Regions from separate parts of the Homo sapiens genome. Here region 2 is linked to region 1. The links are contacts of gene promoters, found by promoter capture Hi-C in human tissues and cell types (Jung and others, 2019). All regions are on one chromosome and are shown on one strand. Each heading gives the region's core, a stretch centred on a gene start or on the middle of the fragment in contact. The rest is flanking DNA. Distances are from core to core; before and after follow the strand shown.

Region 1 (7,936 bases), core at 1,916-4,415:
ATCCAATAGTGACCCCAAAACATTGGCTGATTTACTCCACAGACAGTACTTGGGCACTATCTTAGTCTATTTTGTGCTGATATAACAGAATACCTGAGACTTGGTAATTTGTAATGAATAGAAATTTATTGTTCATGGTTCTGGAGGCTGGGAAGTCCAAAATTCAGGGGCTGGCATATGGTGAGGGACTTTTTGCTACATCATCCCCTGGCAGAAAGTGGAAGAGCAGAGGGAGGGAGACACACAGGGAGAGAGAGAGAGAGAGAAGGAGGGGGTGGTGGCAAACTCATCCTTTAATAAGGAACCCATTCCCATGATAATGGCACTAATCCACTTATGAAGGCAGTGCCTCCATGAGTCAAACACCTCCCATTGGGACCCACCTCCCAATACTGTTGCATTGGGGGTCAGGTTTCCAACACATGAACTTTGGGGGACACATTCAAACTATAGCACAAATAGCTCCTATCTCCTGCCAGGAGCTATTTGTAGGGGACACTTCCTTGGCAGCAGGAGAGACACACAGATGAACAGCGTCCTCTGCTGTCATATAACAGGTATTTAATGAGACATGTAGCCAACACTAAAATCTGTAGGCTACATGAGGGGGCCAAGGGTTGATGATATTGCTAGCATTCTGCCCTGTTTCCTTCTCTGGGAAGCAAAGCTAAACGTACACATTACCTTATGTAGTCATCACCACGGCTCTGAAAGGTAAATAAGAAAACCTAGCCTCAGGGATGTTGAGTAAGTTGCCCAGGGTCCTATGAAATCAGTGAGTGGTGTGTCGTTAAATGTTTAACCACAGGCTGGGGTGGGAGAAGCCCTGATCTATGGAGTTTGCTGATTTCTATAATGCAAAAACTCATTGTGGTGGATTTTAAGCAACCAACATGCTGTCACTGAAGCAGAGATGGAGAGAGATGCCCATAATGGGCCCTTTTGAGCTGGTGTGAGCTGGCTTCAGAACTCCACTGTCTGCAGCTGTCAGTCACTCAGATAACTGTCAATGAGTGTCATCTGTGGACACACAGAGAAGAGAGGGAATCTTGTTTCTGCCCTCCTGACACCTCATTTCATGAGCATTTAATAAAGTTTGGATGTTTGTCCCCTCCAAATCTCATGTTGAAACATAATCCCCAATGTTGGAGGTGGGCCCTGGTGGGAGGCGAAGGCGATTGGATAATGGGGGCAGAGCCCTCATGAATGGGTTGGCACCATCCTGAATGACTTCTCAGTCCATGAGAGATATGGTGTTTAAAAGCCTGGGACCTCCCCCTTCTCTTTCTGGCTTTCACTCTTGCCATGTGACATGCCTGCTCCCACTTTGCCTTTTGCCATGATTAGAAGCTTCCTGAGGCCCTCATCAGAAGCTGAGCAGATGTTGGAGCCATGATTGCATACCTTGCAGAATCATGAGCCAATTCAACCTCTTTTCTTCATCAATTACCCAATCTCAGGTATTCCTTTACAGCAAAGAAAAATGGCACAATACAGCATCTACAATGTGCTTGGTACTATGTGAAGGAGATAATTAAGTATAATGAGGTCTCTACCTTCAGGGCGTAGAGTCCACCACGTCCTTGCTTGGCTTACTTTATCTAGTGGCTTGAGGCCCAGGAATGTCCAGTCACCACTGGCCACACCAGGAGGCTCCAGAACAGGGCTTTCTATGTCCAGGACAGGGATCTGAGGTTGCTGACATGGTGCAGGGGGTCACTGCAGGGCAGCATCTCACAGAGTTGAAGGGGGCTGCAGGGGTTCTGAGAGCTGCCCCTGCCTGTCCATCCCCACCCCTTCCCCACAGAGTCTTGGTTGAGAACCGAAGGGCCACAGTCCCTGCACACTTTGCTGAGGGGAGGCAGGGGTCCCCTGTGTCCAGGGTCTCTGTTGCTTGGACCATGCCTGCCAGCTGACACCCTCCCCATTTTCTGAAGAGTTCTGGCACCTTATATCAGGCAGGTCCCTCATAAACTAGAATGTGCTGCCTCACCAGTCTCAGGGCAGAGGGGTGTGTGGCTTCAGGGCTACAGGAGGCAGCTGCTGGAACTTGGAGCAGGACAACAGAGTATCCACCATACTAGGGTTAGCTGTCTAGGCTGGTTGTGGACAGCCTGGCTTGCCCAGGTGGGAGCAGTCAGGGTCAGCAAAGGCATCTCCCAGCTGGAGAGATGCCCAGGGGATGTTACAGAGAGCCTCGGGGTCCCTGCAGCAGGCTTAGGATTCAGCCGAAGCTCTGGCTGTAGGGCGAGGGAAAGAAGGCACTGAGAATCGAGTAACCTCAGTCATGCAGCAGCTGTTCTTGGGACAGACAGGCTGGGACACTCACGTCAAGGTCTGCCAGGATAGCATGCAGGCGGGGACAGGTGGCACTGGGGCGTGAAGGTGTCCAGGCATCCCTTCCTTTTCTCAGAGAGATTTCCTTGACTCAGCCTGTCTTTGACACACACGGGGGGATGGAGGATGTTGGGGGAAGGGAGCCACAGTGAGCCAATCACCCTGCACCGGAGCCTTCGGGGCTGGTTCCCTCCGAGCCTGTAAGTGTGAGTGTGTGTGCGCGAGTGTGTCTGTGTGTGCACCAGTGGGGATTTCTGTGATAGAAGCAGCCAGATTCCAGAGACAGAGAGAAGAGGAGGGGGAAGAACAAGAGAGGGGAGAAAATTGGGGGTGGGAGAGACAGACGGAGAGAACAGCGCGGGGGGCGGGGAGAGGGAGAGAGGTGGAGGGGAGAGCAGAGAGAGAGAGAGCGAGCCAGAGAGCAGAGAGGGAGGAAGAGAGAAAGCAAGAGAGCGGGAGGGTGCGCGGAGCGGAGCGGAGACAGAGCTCGCGGGCATGGGGTGAGAGCGGGAGGAAGCAGAGGCAGAGGCGGAGCAGGGGCGCAGGTGCCTGCAACCCAGGATCCCGGGGCGCTAAAGGCTTCGGGTTCTACCGCACGCTCAGTCGCTGGCTCCAGAGGTGCTGCTGGGGGCCAGGGTTCACTGCCGCGCGCCAGGTGCCTGCCCGTGAGGCGGCGCGGGGCTCCCGGGTGGCTGCGCGCCCAGACGCCTGCCCGGGAGGCCGCCTGAGGCTCCGGGGTGGCCGCGCGCCCTCCTGGGAGCCATGGCGGCTGGGGCCGGTGGTCGCCGGGCGGCGGCGGCGCCGAGGGGCTGAGCCGGCCGCGGGCAGCGCCATGGCGGCGCCGGGTTGCGGACCCTGAGCGCCGGCGCGGGGCGCGCACCATGAACTCGTGGGACGCGGGCCTGGCGGGGCTACTGGTGGGCACGATGGGCGTCTCGCTGCTGTCCAACGCGCTGGTGCTGCTCTGCCTGCTGCACAGCGCGGACATCCGCCGCCAGGCGCCGGCGCTCTTCACCCTGAACCTCACGTGCGGGAACCTGCTGTGCACCGTGGTCAACATGCCGCTCACGCTGGCCGGCGTCGTGGCGCAGCGGCAGCCGGCGGGCGACCGCCTGTGCCGCCTGGCTGCCTTCCTCGACACCTTCCTGGCTGCCAACTCCATGCTCAGCATGGCCGCGCTCAGCATCGACCGCTGGGTGGCCGTGGTCTTCCCGCTGAGCTACCGGGCCAAGATGCGCCTCCGCGACGCGGCGCTCATGGTGGCCTACACGTGGCTGCACGCGCTCACCTTCCCAGCCGCCGCGCTCGCCCTGTCCTGGCTCGGCTTCCACCAGCTGTACGCCTCGTGCACGCTGTGCAGCCGGCGGCCAGACGAGCGCCTGCGCTTCGCCGTCTTCACTGGCGCCTTCCACGCTCTCAGCTTCCTGCTCTCCTTCGTCGTGCTCTGCTGCACGTACCTCAAGGTGCTCAAGGTGGCCCGCTTCCATTGCAAGCGCATCGACGTGATCACCATGCAGACGCTGGTGCTGCTGGTGGACCTGCACCCCAGGTGAGCCGAGCGCAGCTAAGGCTCTGGGAACAGCCGCGCGGGATCTCGGCGGGAGTGGGAGGTCCCTAGCCCCAGGGGCTCTTTTCCACCGAGCCTCTGTTTCTTCTGAGAACTCGAGGGTGGGGAAAGCGGCCCAGCTGTGGGGCTTAAGGAGGTGCTTAGGGTATCAGCAAACCAGGGCCACAAAAAATGCGGGTGAGCCCATCTATACATCGGTTTTTGAAGCATCAGGGTAGAAATCACAGACAGTCAGAACTCTGTTGGGCTTCTTCATGCACATTTTCTGTGTTTGTAGCTTTCACTTTAAATGGCACATGGGAAGTCCGTGGTCTTTGTTCCCTATTAAAGACCTTCAAAGTGTTTGATTCTGGCCGAGAGGGCGGCCTCGATGCTTAGGGAGCTCCTTAAGAGCTTTTCAGACCCAAGTGTGTCGCTTCTCTGAGTCTTTCCCTTCTCGGGTGTGTGGCGCTGCCTCTGTCTCACGACTGTGTGTGTGTGTGTGTGTGTGTGTGTGTGTGTGTGTGTGAATTCTGATGGACTCGGGCTGCGTCCTTCTCTGTGGTGGGCCCTGAGGGGTGGGGTGGGGGGCTCTTCCTGCCCTCCCCAGAGAGCACTGTCCAATGTCTGCCTGACTTGGTGCCTAGAGGCTCCTGCAGAAGGAGTGTGCCCCAAGGCTCCTGGGGCTGAATCTGCCCCCACCTCCGTCGTCACGCTGGCTGCTGTTCTCAGGAGGGCAGATGGAGCTGGGCAAGCATGGGTACCCTCTGGGAACCCCTGCCATCGCAGGAGCCTGTCAGGGAGAGAAGGAGGGAACTCTTAGCTGCGCTGTCCTGAGCTCACCTCAGCTTTCCCCAGGAGAATAGGAAATCGAGGAGGGAAACAGCTGGCAGCGTCTGGACTCTGCTATTTTACATCCTGTTGTCCCAGGGGAAGGCAGGCTCCCTGCTCTGTGTCCTGGGACCCTAGATAAGGGGGTGCTGGGGTCCAGATGGTGTCGCAGGTGAGGCAGGCAGAGAGCTCTGACAGGGCCAGCGAGGGCCTTCCGTGTGGGAGAACCCTGGGAACCCAGGGGAGCCTCGGGGCAGAGGAAGCTCTATCCTCTGGTGGATATGTTCCACACCAGGGTTGAAGGGGACAGGCTGGAGGTGTCAGGCTGAGCATTCTGAGTATTTCCTGCACGAGAGCAGTAACAAGCAGTCCTTGACCTTCACAATGCCGACACATTGAAGGGCAAGTGTGCACGTGTTCATTGTCCCCCTGAGCACAGCCATTCCTGATTACACACTGGACCAATCTTCCAGCCACAGAATCCCCACAGATTCAGGAACAGAATGTACATGTGAGTGACTGAGAGCACATAGATACCAGGCCATGTAAACGTGGGAGCTCCACACACAATCTCATGTGTTCACACATAAACTGTATATGTACCAGACAGCTGGCCATGTGTACACAGGTTTACAGGAGTGACACGAGTGCATTCTGCCACAAAGACATACATTGGCTGTCACAGCACATGTCTCTGCATGGTTCAGTGTCCTTCAAGGAAATATTTGCAGCCACAGTTGCAGAGCTATTGCCCTTTCCATGACTCAGAGCTGAGAGGCTCTTCCTTAGAGGGTGCATCCTTAGCGCTTGGGCTGGGACTGCTCTTAGAAGATGTAGGGCAATGTTGTTTAACTCCCGGGACTAAAGACTCCTAGAGGGGGCCCTCTCACCATGAGTCTAACAGCGGAGGAGGGTTGAGCTGGGAGTGGAACCAGTTCTTATTTAGAGCAGTACAAACTGCATTCCCACTCTTCCTCCAACTTCCAGAAGAGGAGGGGCCGTGGTTCCTGTTCAGCCTATTTGGGATGTAGGGCCAGCTCCACTCCTGCAAATCCCTCTGGCCGATGTCAGGCCAGACACTGCAGAGAGAGTCCTGGGGTCTCAGGAGTGGAGGCAGCTACTCTGCTTGCCTTCGATTTCCCCTCCATTCCTCTGGGAGGACCTTGATCTCTTCCTAGCCCCGGGCTGCTTTGAAGAGCCCCTGCTCCCAGTGCCCTGGGACCCTCCAGGCCCAGTCTCATTGGAGAGAGAAAAGACTTCTGGGGCCGGGGTTGCCATCGGCCAGTGCCAACAGGCTCCCTGGACTAATGCTCCCTGAGGTCATGGAATAGTGGCAGACCTGATAGCACTGCCCCTTTAGTGAATACAAACTTGTCCTTCTCTGAGGGGTTGATCCCCGCCAAGCATGTGGGAGGGACAACACAGGAGGGGATGACCAGTCCTCAAGAGACCCTGACAGCCAGTCCACCAGCTTCTATCTTGACAGCACTAAACTCTTCCTCCCTACAAATGAGCAAGTACAGAGCTAGCTCAGGGGCTGCCCCAGGCACCACCAGTCTCAGGCAGTGAGCCTCTCAGGGCCATTCGGTGCTGAGAGCCTGTAGGACCCAGGAGTGCTGGTCTTGGGCAGCAGGAGCTGGCTTCTCCCTCTGGACAGCCAGGACAGCAGCCGGAGTCTTTGCTCACTGGAAGTTTTGTCAGCCTCCACACTGATGGCCTGCTAGGACTTAATTACAAAGGACCTGTTTTGAGGACCCAGGGTGGCATTTGTCTTTGTCAGGAAGCTCCTGGTGGTGTCTGCTCTACCTGCAGGATGTTTGGCACCATAAGTAGCAGTCCTCACCACTTTGCTTCAGCCACCTCCAAAATACCCGGGACCCTCTCTTCTTAATTCAATCTGGGACCCTGGCCCTGGGAAGCATTCCGCACTCCTGCCTTTCTGTGGTGATTTCTTGAGTTACGTTTCTGAAGCAGTTTGGAGTTTCTAATATTTGTTAAACACCTGGTGCTCCATCTGAATGAGCAGCATTCACTTCTCCCAAACCATAGCTGGGGACTAGTTATAGGCAGCCCCTCTCCCTGGTGCTCCCAGGCATGGCAGAGCAGGTGGGCCCCAGGGTATGGTTGCAGGGACCTTGCTCTTCCCTGACTCACTGGCTTGGCTTAGTGATTCAACAGAAACAGAATGTTGATGATGAGGTCTCAAAGGGAAGCAGTGCCAAACCTAACTGGAGCTTCCTCTGAGGCTGCCCCAGGCTCTGCTGGTTCCCCCAGTGTGTCCTCTGTGTCCTGTGAGCAATGTCTGCAGATGTTGCCTGAGTGGCTGACTCTGGAGGGTGTCAGAATTGTGGCTCAGTAGACAGGAACTACACTGTGCCCTTGACTTTACAGATGAGAAAATGAGAGACCCAATTTTCTAAGAGAAGAGAAGCACTCACCTAATTCAACAGATCTAGAAAGTGTCTCAAGCTAAGACTCACACTCAGGTCTGCCCCTAAGATTTATGGATGGAGCAAATAGTGCAAATGGAGGCTCACCAACTGTGTCTATAGAGACTTAGATGTTCTATATTCAGCTTACAAACTGTTAAATGTGTTCTGCCCTCCTGCCTTGGTGAATATACCTTTATAATGACCGGCAAGGCTGGGTTCGCATTTAGAATTCTCAGGCTCCTTGGGGATCAACCTCATATGTGCTGGGAGAGCCGAGCTGGCCCACCTGCCTTGCCTCCCACCCCAGCTCTAACCAGCACCACGAGGGGCCTCCCTTGCACACTGCACGTTGCACACCCATATTCCATGCACGTGTGTTGCTCACAAACACCACCCCTCAGGCGTCTAGCTGGGCACACAGATGGCACAGTCTATCCTCAGGAGGGTGGGACCAGGGGAGATGCCCACACATGTCTTGCAGGCAGGATGAGGGCGTTTGGGCAAAGAATTCCATGTTTTAGGCATTTAGAGCTTGGTTTGGAATGGAAAGTCGGGGCTGTAGGTAGGCACATCCCCTTAGCCCTATGAACTCTTTGTTGTGTGGGGAGGGATGAGGGACTCTTAATGTGCAGGGCCCAGGGCAGGGGTCCCTCTTGCTGGATTTGAGGGCCAGACTGCTTATGCCAGTGTCCTGACCCCAAACTCAGGGCTGTTGCCCTCCATCAGTCGGCTTGTTCCCTTGCCTTAAAAGCCAGAAAAACCAATCTGAGTCACTCCTTAAATACTCAGA
Region 2 (7,936 bases), core at 1,938-4,437, 310 kb after region 1:
GAAAACTATGAAAGGAACTAAATGAAAATTTTAAGAACTAAAAATTGCAAAAACTAAAGAATTCAGTAGGTGGATTTATTATTAATGTAATCTGTTATTATTAATAATCTATTATGAATAGATTAGAAACAGCAAAAAAGATTAGTGAATTAGGAAATACAGCAATCTAAAAAATTAAGATTGAAACACAGAAGAAAAGAAGATAGAAAATACAAAAGAGAACATAAAGGACATAGACAGCAGTGTAAAGGTCTAACATTAGTGTAATTGCAGCCTCAGATAGAGAGGAAAGAGATAATGGGATAAGGAAATATTTGAAGAACTAATACCTGACAATTTTCCAAAACTGAGGAAAGACATTAGTCCACAAATTAAAAATCTTTACATACTCTAAGCAAAGTATATATAAAATAAATTTTACTTTAGTATAGCTGAAAAACAAAGATAAAAAAGGAAATTGTGAACACAGCAGGAGAGGAACGACAGATTACCTTCAATGGAGCAACAGTAAGACTGAAGATTGGCTTTTCAGAAATGATATGTTTAAAGAGCTGGAAGGTAGTAAAACTAACCTGAAATTCTATATTCAATGAAAGTGTAACAGCTCAATAGGTTAATCTTGCCCACTGCCCACACAGATACAGCCAATGTATCAAGATGGGGAATTGCAATAGAGAAAGAGTTCAATATATGTAGAGCCAGCTAAACACGGACTGTAGTTTTACTACTATTCAAATTAGCCTCTCCAAAAATTGGAGGCTAGGGTTTTGTAAAGATAGTTTGGTGAGCAGGGGGATAGGGAATGAGTGCTGCTGATGAGTTAGTGATGCAATCATAGTGGTGTGGTAAGTGGTCCTCATGTGCTGAGTTCACTTCTGGGTGGGAGCCAGAGAGGAGTTGCTGATCCAGTTGGAGTCATCTAGTCATCAGAAATGCAAAAGTCTGAAAAGACATCTTAAAAGGGCAATCTGAGGGTCTACAATAGTGATGCTCTTTACAGGAGTCATTGAAGAAGTTGCAAATCTTGTGACTTCCAGAATAATGGCTGGTAATCATTTAACTATGCCTGCATCTTAGCAGAATTCAGGTCCCTCTAATCTTCCTAACCTGGTTGCCTTTCATTAGTTTTGCAAAGGTGGCTTAGTTTTGGGAAGAGCTATTATGTTTTAGTCTCCCAAAGTTAGTCTGGCCCATGCTCAGGAATGGCCAAGGGCAGTTTGGAGGTTAAAAGCAAGATGGAGTTGATTAGATCTTTCACTATCATAATTTTCTCACTGTTCTAATTTTTGCAAAGGCAATTTCCAAAACATCTTTCAAAAATGAAGGGAAAATATTATTTAAAGACACCAAAACAGAAAAACCCAGTGTAAAATAAATGCCAATAGAAATTCTTCAGACAAAGGAAAAGAACCCAGATTTAAAAACTGAAATGCATGAAGAAATTGAAAGCTACAGAAAGAGTATATATGTAAATATAAATAAATATTAACCATACGAAACATCAAAAATGATGTCTAGTGGGATTTAAAATATATATTGACAAGAGTAAAGGAAAAGAATGGGAGCAATAAAGTATTCTAAGGTCTCAACATTGTGTAAAAGAAATAAAAGTCCTAAATTATATTAGACAATATTAAATCAAGGATACATGTTGCAACATTTACAGTAGTTACTAAAATACTTAAGTACCAAGTTTATATAGGGAAAATAGAATAATAAAACTATTCATCCAAAAGAAAGTAAAAAAAAAACCCAAGACATGGAAAAGCAACATAAAATGGGTACAACACAAAAAGTAAAATGGTAACTATAAATTCTAATATATTAATAATTATGTCAAATATAAATTGACTAAATACTTCAAGTAAGACCAAAATAGTCAGATCTGATTTTATTAACTCAAGTATATACTGGTTACAGGAGACCCACCTCAAAAGCAAAAAAGGATGAAAGTCAAAGTTGAAAAAAGCTATGCCAGATAAACACTAAACAAAAGAAAGCTGGTATCATTATTCTAATATCAGAAAAGTAGACTGGAAGGTAAGAAGCATTGCTAGACATAAAGCAGTTGCTTTGCAATGATAAAAGGATCAATCCACTCATAAAGCAAAAACAGACAGAACTAAAAAAGAAAAAGAGACAAATTCACAATAATATTCAGAGGCACAAACACACTCCTCTCAATATATGATAGAAATGCAAACAGAAAATCAGTAATAGCACAATTAGCCTGACCTAATTAACACTGTATCCTACAATGACAGAATATGCATTCTTTTTAAGTGCACACATAACATTTAATAAAATCAGTCATATGCTGGGTCATAAAACAATTCTCAACAGATTTCAAGGGATTTGAATCACTCTTGACAACTGTGAAATTAACCCTCTGACCACTGTGAAATTAATCTAGAAATTAATAACAAAAAGTTAATTAGGAAATCTCCTTTTCTGCTATGCTAGCAATCTCTGCCTCCAAATATATGTCAATGTCCTTTTAATTCATAGGAAAACTTGAAGGAAGGAAAAAAGACACTTCTTGAACAGAAATAAAATAGAAACTACAGCCAGCGGGTAATCCATGAGCCAACACACCAGGAGCCCAGGGAAACATCAAATGTGAACACATGTCCTAAGGGCTCACAGCTGGGTTTTGATGCTGATTAGGAGAAACGGAATATGACTTTGACCTGCATGAGGCAGAGGTGAACTAAGAACTCTGAGTAGAGTTGAGACCCTGGAAGACTGCCCCCTTCTTATAAGAGGAACTAGAAAAACTCAAGCAAAATCTCCAGAACCAAGCTTGACTGCACAGAAAAAGCAAAGGGGAAAAATATCCCACTGGAAATGGAAACTCCAAACTCATTCCATCCCAATCAGATGTAAAGTTTTAATTTATACTTCCCACAAAGTAAGGAAATCCCAAACCAAATATATATAAAATATAATTATAAATAAAATATAATCAATTATATAGATATTTTTATAAAATATAATTACATATATATGATATATTTATAAAATATAATTATATTATATACAATATATTTATATATATATAATGAATTTCAGAAGAGTGATCCCTTGGCTCCAAAACTAAAGCAAAGAGAACTCCTTTTCTAAAGACATCTTCAATGCCAGGCCACATGAGACTCCCACAGGGGAAAACAATGGCAACACCAGCTGAAGAAAACTTCCAATGATTTTTTTAAAATCACAAACTACACAAAGAAACAATTCACAATAAGGGAAGTCAGCAGATACAATCAACAGCATAATTAGATCCCCCAGACACTTGTGATGACAGAATAGCCCAAATCAAATTATATACCAAATACATTTTAAATGATTAAACACATAAAGAAGGGATAAAAATCATGTTGAAAAAATAAGCTTCTATTTAAAAAATAATAACAGCCTGACCTGAACATGAGCCAAATTGTAGTTCTCAGACTGAAAATGAACCCCAAAAGTCATTTAAAAACTTAATAGTTTAAATAGCAGAATTGATGGTTTAGACAAGTAGGAAGATTTGGTGAACTGGGAGATAAATGTAAGAGAATTTCACAGAATACAATGCAGATATGAAGAGGTATAAAATCTGAAAAAGAGCTAACTGAGTGAAATTGAAACATGAAAAACCATACAAAAGATCAACAAGCCATAAGTTTGTTCTTTGAAAAAATACGTAAGATAGACAGGCTACTAGCTAAACTCATGAAAAAAAGAGAGAAGATCCAAATCAACACAATTAGAAATGACAAAGTGGACATTATCACTGACCTCACAGAGATATTAAAAAACATCAGAGACTATTATGAACATCCCTATGCACACAAACTAGAAAACCTAGAAGAAATGAATAAATTCCTGAAAACATGCAACTTCCCAAGACTGAACCAGGAAGAAATTCAAACTTCGAACAGACCAACAATGAGTTCTGAAATTGAATGAGTAATAAATATCCTGCCAACCAGAAAAGCCCAGGACTAGATGGATTCACAGCCTAATTCTACCAGACATACAAAGAAGAGCTGGTACCATTCCTACTGAAACTATTCCAAAAAATTGAGGAAGAGGGACTCCTTCCTAACTCATTCTGTGAGGCCAGCATCATTCCAGTACCAAACCTGGCAAAGACCCAACAACAACAAAAAAAAGACTTCAGGACAATATCCTTGAACATAGATGCAAAAATCATCAACAAAATACTAGCAAACCAAATCCAAAGCCCATCAAAAAGCCAATCCATAACAATCAAGTAGGCTTTCCCTGGCATACAAAGTTGGGTCAACACACACAAATCAATAGATGTATTCATCACATAAACTGAACTAAAGGCAAAAACCACACGGTAATCTCAATAAATGCAGAAAAGGCTTTTAATAAAATTCAGCATCCCTTCCTGTTAAACACCCTCAACAAAGTAGGCATTGAAGGAACATGTTTCAAAATAATAAGAGCCATTTTCGACAAACCCACAGCCAACATCATACTGAATGGGCAAAAGCTGGAAGCATTCCCTTTGAGAACCAGAACAAGGCAAAGATGCCCACTCTTACCACTCCTTTTCAACATAGTACAAGAAGTCCTAGCCAGAGCAGTCAGGAAAGAGAAAGAAATAAAAAGCATCCATGGAGGAAGTCAAACTTTCTGTTGGCAGACAATATGATTTTATACCTAGAAAACCCCAGCCTCTGCCCAAAAGCTCCTAGACCTGATAAACAACTTTAGCCAAGTTTCCAGATACAAAACCAATGTACAAAAATTGGCAGCATTTCTGTACATCAATATCATCCAAGTTGAGTGCCAAATCAAGAACACAATCCCATTCACAATAGCCACAAAAGGAATGAAATACCTAGGAATACAGCTAACCAGGTAGGTGAAAGATCTCTACAACCAGAATTACAAAACCTACTGAAAGAAATCAAAGATGACACAAACAAATGAAAAAACATTCCATGTCCATGGATAGGAAGAATCAATATTGTTAAAATGGCAATATTGCCCAAAATAATTTACAGATTTAATGCTATTCCTATCAAACTACCAATGACATTCTTCACAGACTTAGTCAAAACTATTCTAAAACTTATATGGAACGAAAGAAAGAGCCCAAATAGACAACACAATCCTAAGCAAAAAGAACAAAGCTGGAAACATCACATTACCCTACTTCAAACTATACTACAAGTCTACAGTAACCACCACAGCATGTACAAAATAGACACATAGACTGATGGAACACAATAGAGAGCCCAGAAATAAAGCCTTAGAGCTACAGCCATCTGATCTTGGACAAAATCAGCAACAACAAAAAAGCAATGGGGAAAGGACTCTTTGTTCCACAAATGGTGCTGGGATAAGTGGTTATCCATATGCAGAAGATTGAAACTGGACCCCTTTTTTACACCATATACAAAAATCAACTCAAAATTAAAAATGTAAATGTAAAACCTAAAACTATAAAAAGCCTTGAAGAAAACCTAGGAAATACCACTGTAGAGATAGGCCCTGACAAAGATTTTATGACAAAAATGCCAAAAGCAATTGCAACAAAAATTGAAATGGACAAATAGGACCTAATTCAACTAAAGAGCTTCTGCACAGCAAAAGAAACTGTAAAACCGAGTAAATAGACAACCCACAGAATGGGAGAAAATATTTACAAACTATGCATCTGACAAAGGTCTAATATCCAGACACTATAAGGAACTTAAAAGAACTAACAAGCAAAAAACAAGCAACCCGATTAAAAAGTTGGCAAAGGACATGAACAGACGCTTTTCAAAAGAAGACATATATGTAATCAACAAGCATACAAAAAAATATTCAACATCACTAATCATTAGAGACATGCTAATCAAAACCACAATGAAATGACCATCTCAAACCAGTCAGAATGGCTATTACTAAAAAATCAAAAAATAACAGATGCTGGCAAGGCTGTAGAGAAAAGAGAAAACTTATACACTGCTAATGAGAATGCAAATTAGTTCAACCACTGTAGTAGAAAAGCAGTTCGGTGATTTCTCAAAGAACTTAAAACAGAACTACCATTTGACCCAGCCATCCCATTATTGGGTTTATACTCAAAGGAATATAAATCACTCTACTATAAAGACACATGCAAACATGTGTTCATTGCAGCACTATTCACAATAGCAAAGACAAGAAATCAACCTAAATGCCCATCAATTGTAGACTGAATAAAGAAAATGTGGTACGTATACACCATGGAATACTACACAGCCATTAAAAAGAACAAGATCTGTTCTTTGCAGGAACATGGATGGAGCTGGAGGCAATTATCCTAGGCACATTAATGCAGGAACAAAACACCAAACATCATGTATTCTCACTTGTAAGTGGAAGCTAAACATTGAGTATACATGGACACAAAGAAGTGAACAATAGACACTGGGGGCCGATTGGAGGGTGAGGAATGAGAGAAGGGTGAGGACCAAAAAAACTACCTATCAGGTACTATGCCTATTACCTGGGTGATGAAGTAATATGTACGCCAAATCCCCACAACATGCAATTTATCCCTAGAATCAACCTGCACATATACCTCTGAAACTAAAATAAAAGTTGAAAAAAAAAAAAAAGAAGCCGGGTGCAGTGGCTCATGCCTGTAATCCCAGCACTTTGGGAGGCTGAGGAGGGCGGATCACGAGTTCAGGAGATTGAGACCATCCTGGCTTACATGGTGAAACCCTGTCTCTACTAAAAAAATACAAAAAAATTAGCTGGGCCTGGTGGCAAGCACCTGTAGTCCCAGCTACTTGGGAGACTGAGGCAGGAGAATGGTGTGAACCTGGGAGGTGGAAGTTTGCAGTGAGCTGAGATTGCGCCACTGCGCTTCAGCCTGGGCATCACAGCGAGACTCCATCTCAAAAAAAAAAAAAAAAAAAAAAAAAAAGAAAAAGAAAATCTGAAAACGATTAAAAGGAATTAAGATTAAGAGAAAATCTGAAAAGATTAAGATTATGAGGAATAATGAATGAGGACCAACCTAGAATCTAGTAGTTCATTTTGTTGTTGTTATATTTTATTTTTAATTGACACACAATAATTGTACCTATTTATGAAGTACAGTGTCATGTTTTAATACATGTATGCATTCTGTAATGATAAAATCATGGTATTAAGCATATCCGTCACCTCAAACATTTATCATTTCCTTGTGATGAGAACCTTCAAAATCCTCTCTTCTAATTATTTTGAAATACATGATACAGTGTGAGGGGTCTTCAAGAAGTTCATGGAAAGTGCATATTATGAAAAAAACTACGCATGGATTGCAAAAATTTTTGCACAGAAATAAACACATACTAACTTATAATAGGGGCCTGAGCAGGATCTAGTTTGAGGAACTAAGAAGGGTAAGACATGGACTTAAAAACAGCCTGTATTAGGCTGTTCTCACATTGCTATAAAAAAAATACCTGAGACTGGGTAATTTATTAAGTAAAGAGATTTAATTGGCTCCCGGTTCTGCAGGCTGTACAAGAAGCACAGTACTGGAGTCTGCTTCTGGGAGGCCTCTGGAAGCTTACAATTATGGCAGAAGGTAAAGTGGAAACTTGCATGTCACATGGCAAAAGCAGTAGCAAGAGAGAGGAAGGGGGTAAGTGCTACACACTTAAACAATCAGATCTTGTGAGAACTCATGTACTCGCTATTATGAGAACAGCACCAAGGGGATGGTACTAAACCATTCTGGAGAAACATCTCCATGATCCAATCACCTCCCACCAGGCCCCACCTCCAACACTGAACATTACAATTCAACATGAGATTTGGGTGGGGACCCAGATCGAAACCGTATCAGAGCCCCGTCAGAGCAACATGAATTCTGCTAAAATTGAAGCAAGAACAAACACGAAATTTATGGTGAAGCTTGGATGGACAAATGATGAAATAATTG

The links. Contacts are between HindIII fragments. The study calls those that stand out against the background at their distance.
Region 2: a fragment that was not itself captured here is called in contact with the fragment with the promoter of GPR26 in region 1 in 3 of the 25 tissues and cell types used here (adrenal gland, mesendoderm cells and neural progenitor cells).

Annotation. Positions count from the first base shown.
Region 1 is chr10:123,663,190-123,671,125 of GRCh38, forward strand. GPR26 (G protein-coupled receptor 26) reads left to right here and starts at 3,166. Exons shown (of 3, transcript NM_153442.4): 1 at 3,166-3,886. The coding sequence starts at 3,219. RefSeq lists enhancers at 2,374-2,911, 2,912-3,450, 3,451-3,988, 7,840-7,936. The HindIII fragment of the contact is 11,073 bases long and covers 437-7,936 here.
Region 2 is chr10:123,977,539-123,985,474 of GRCh38, forward strand. No RefSeq gene overlaps it. Among named protein-coding and RNA genes, the nearest start is that of CPXM2, 90 kb to the left of the region's middle. The HindIII fragment of the contact is 4,578 bases long and covers 899-5,476 here.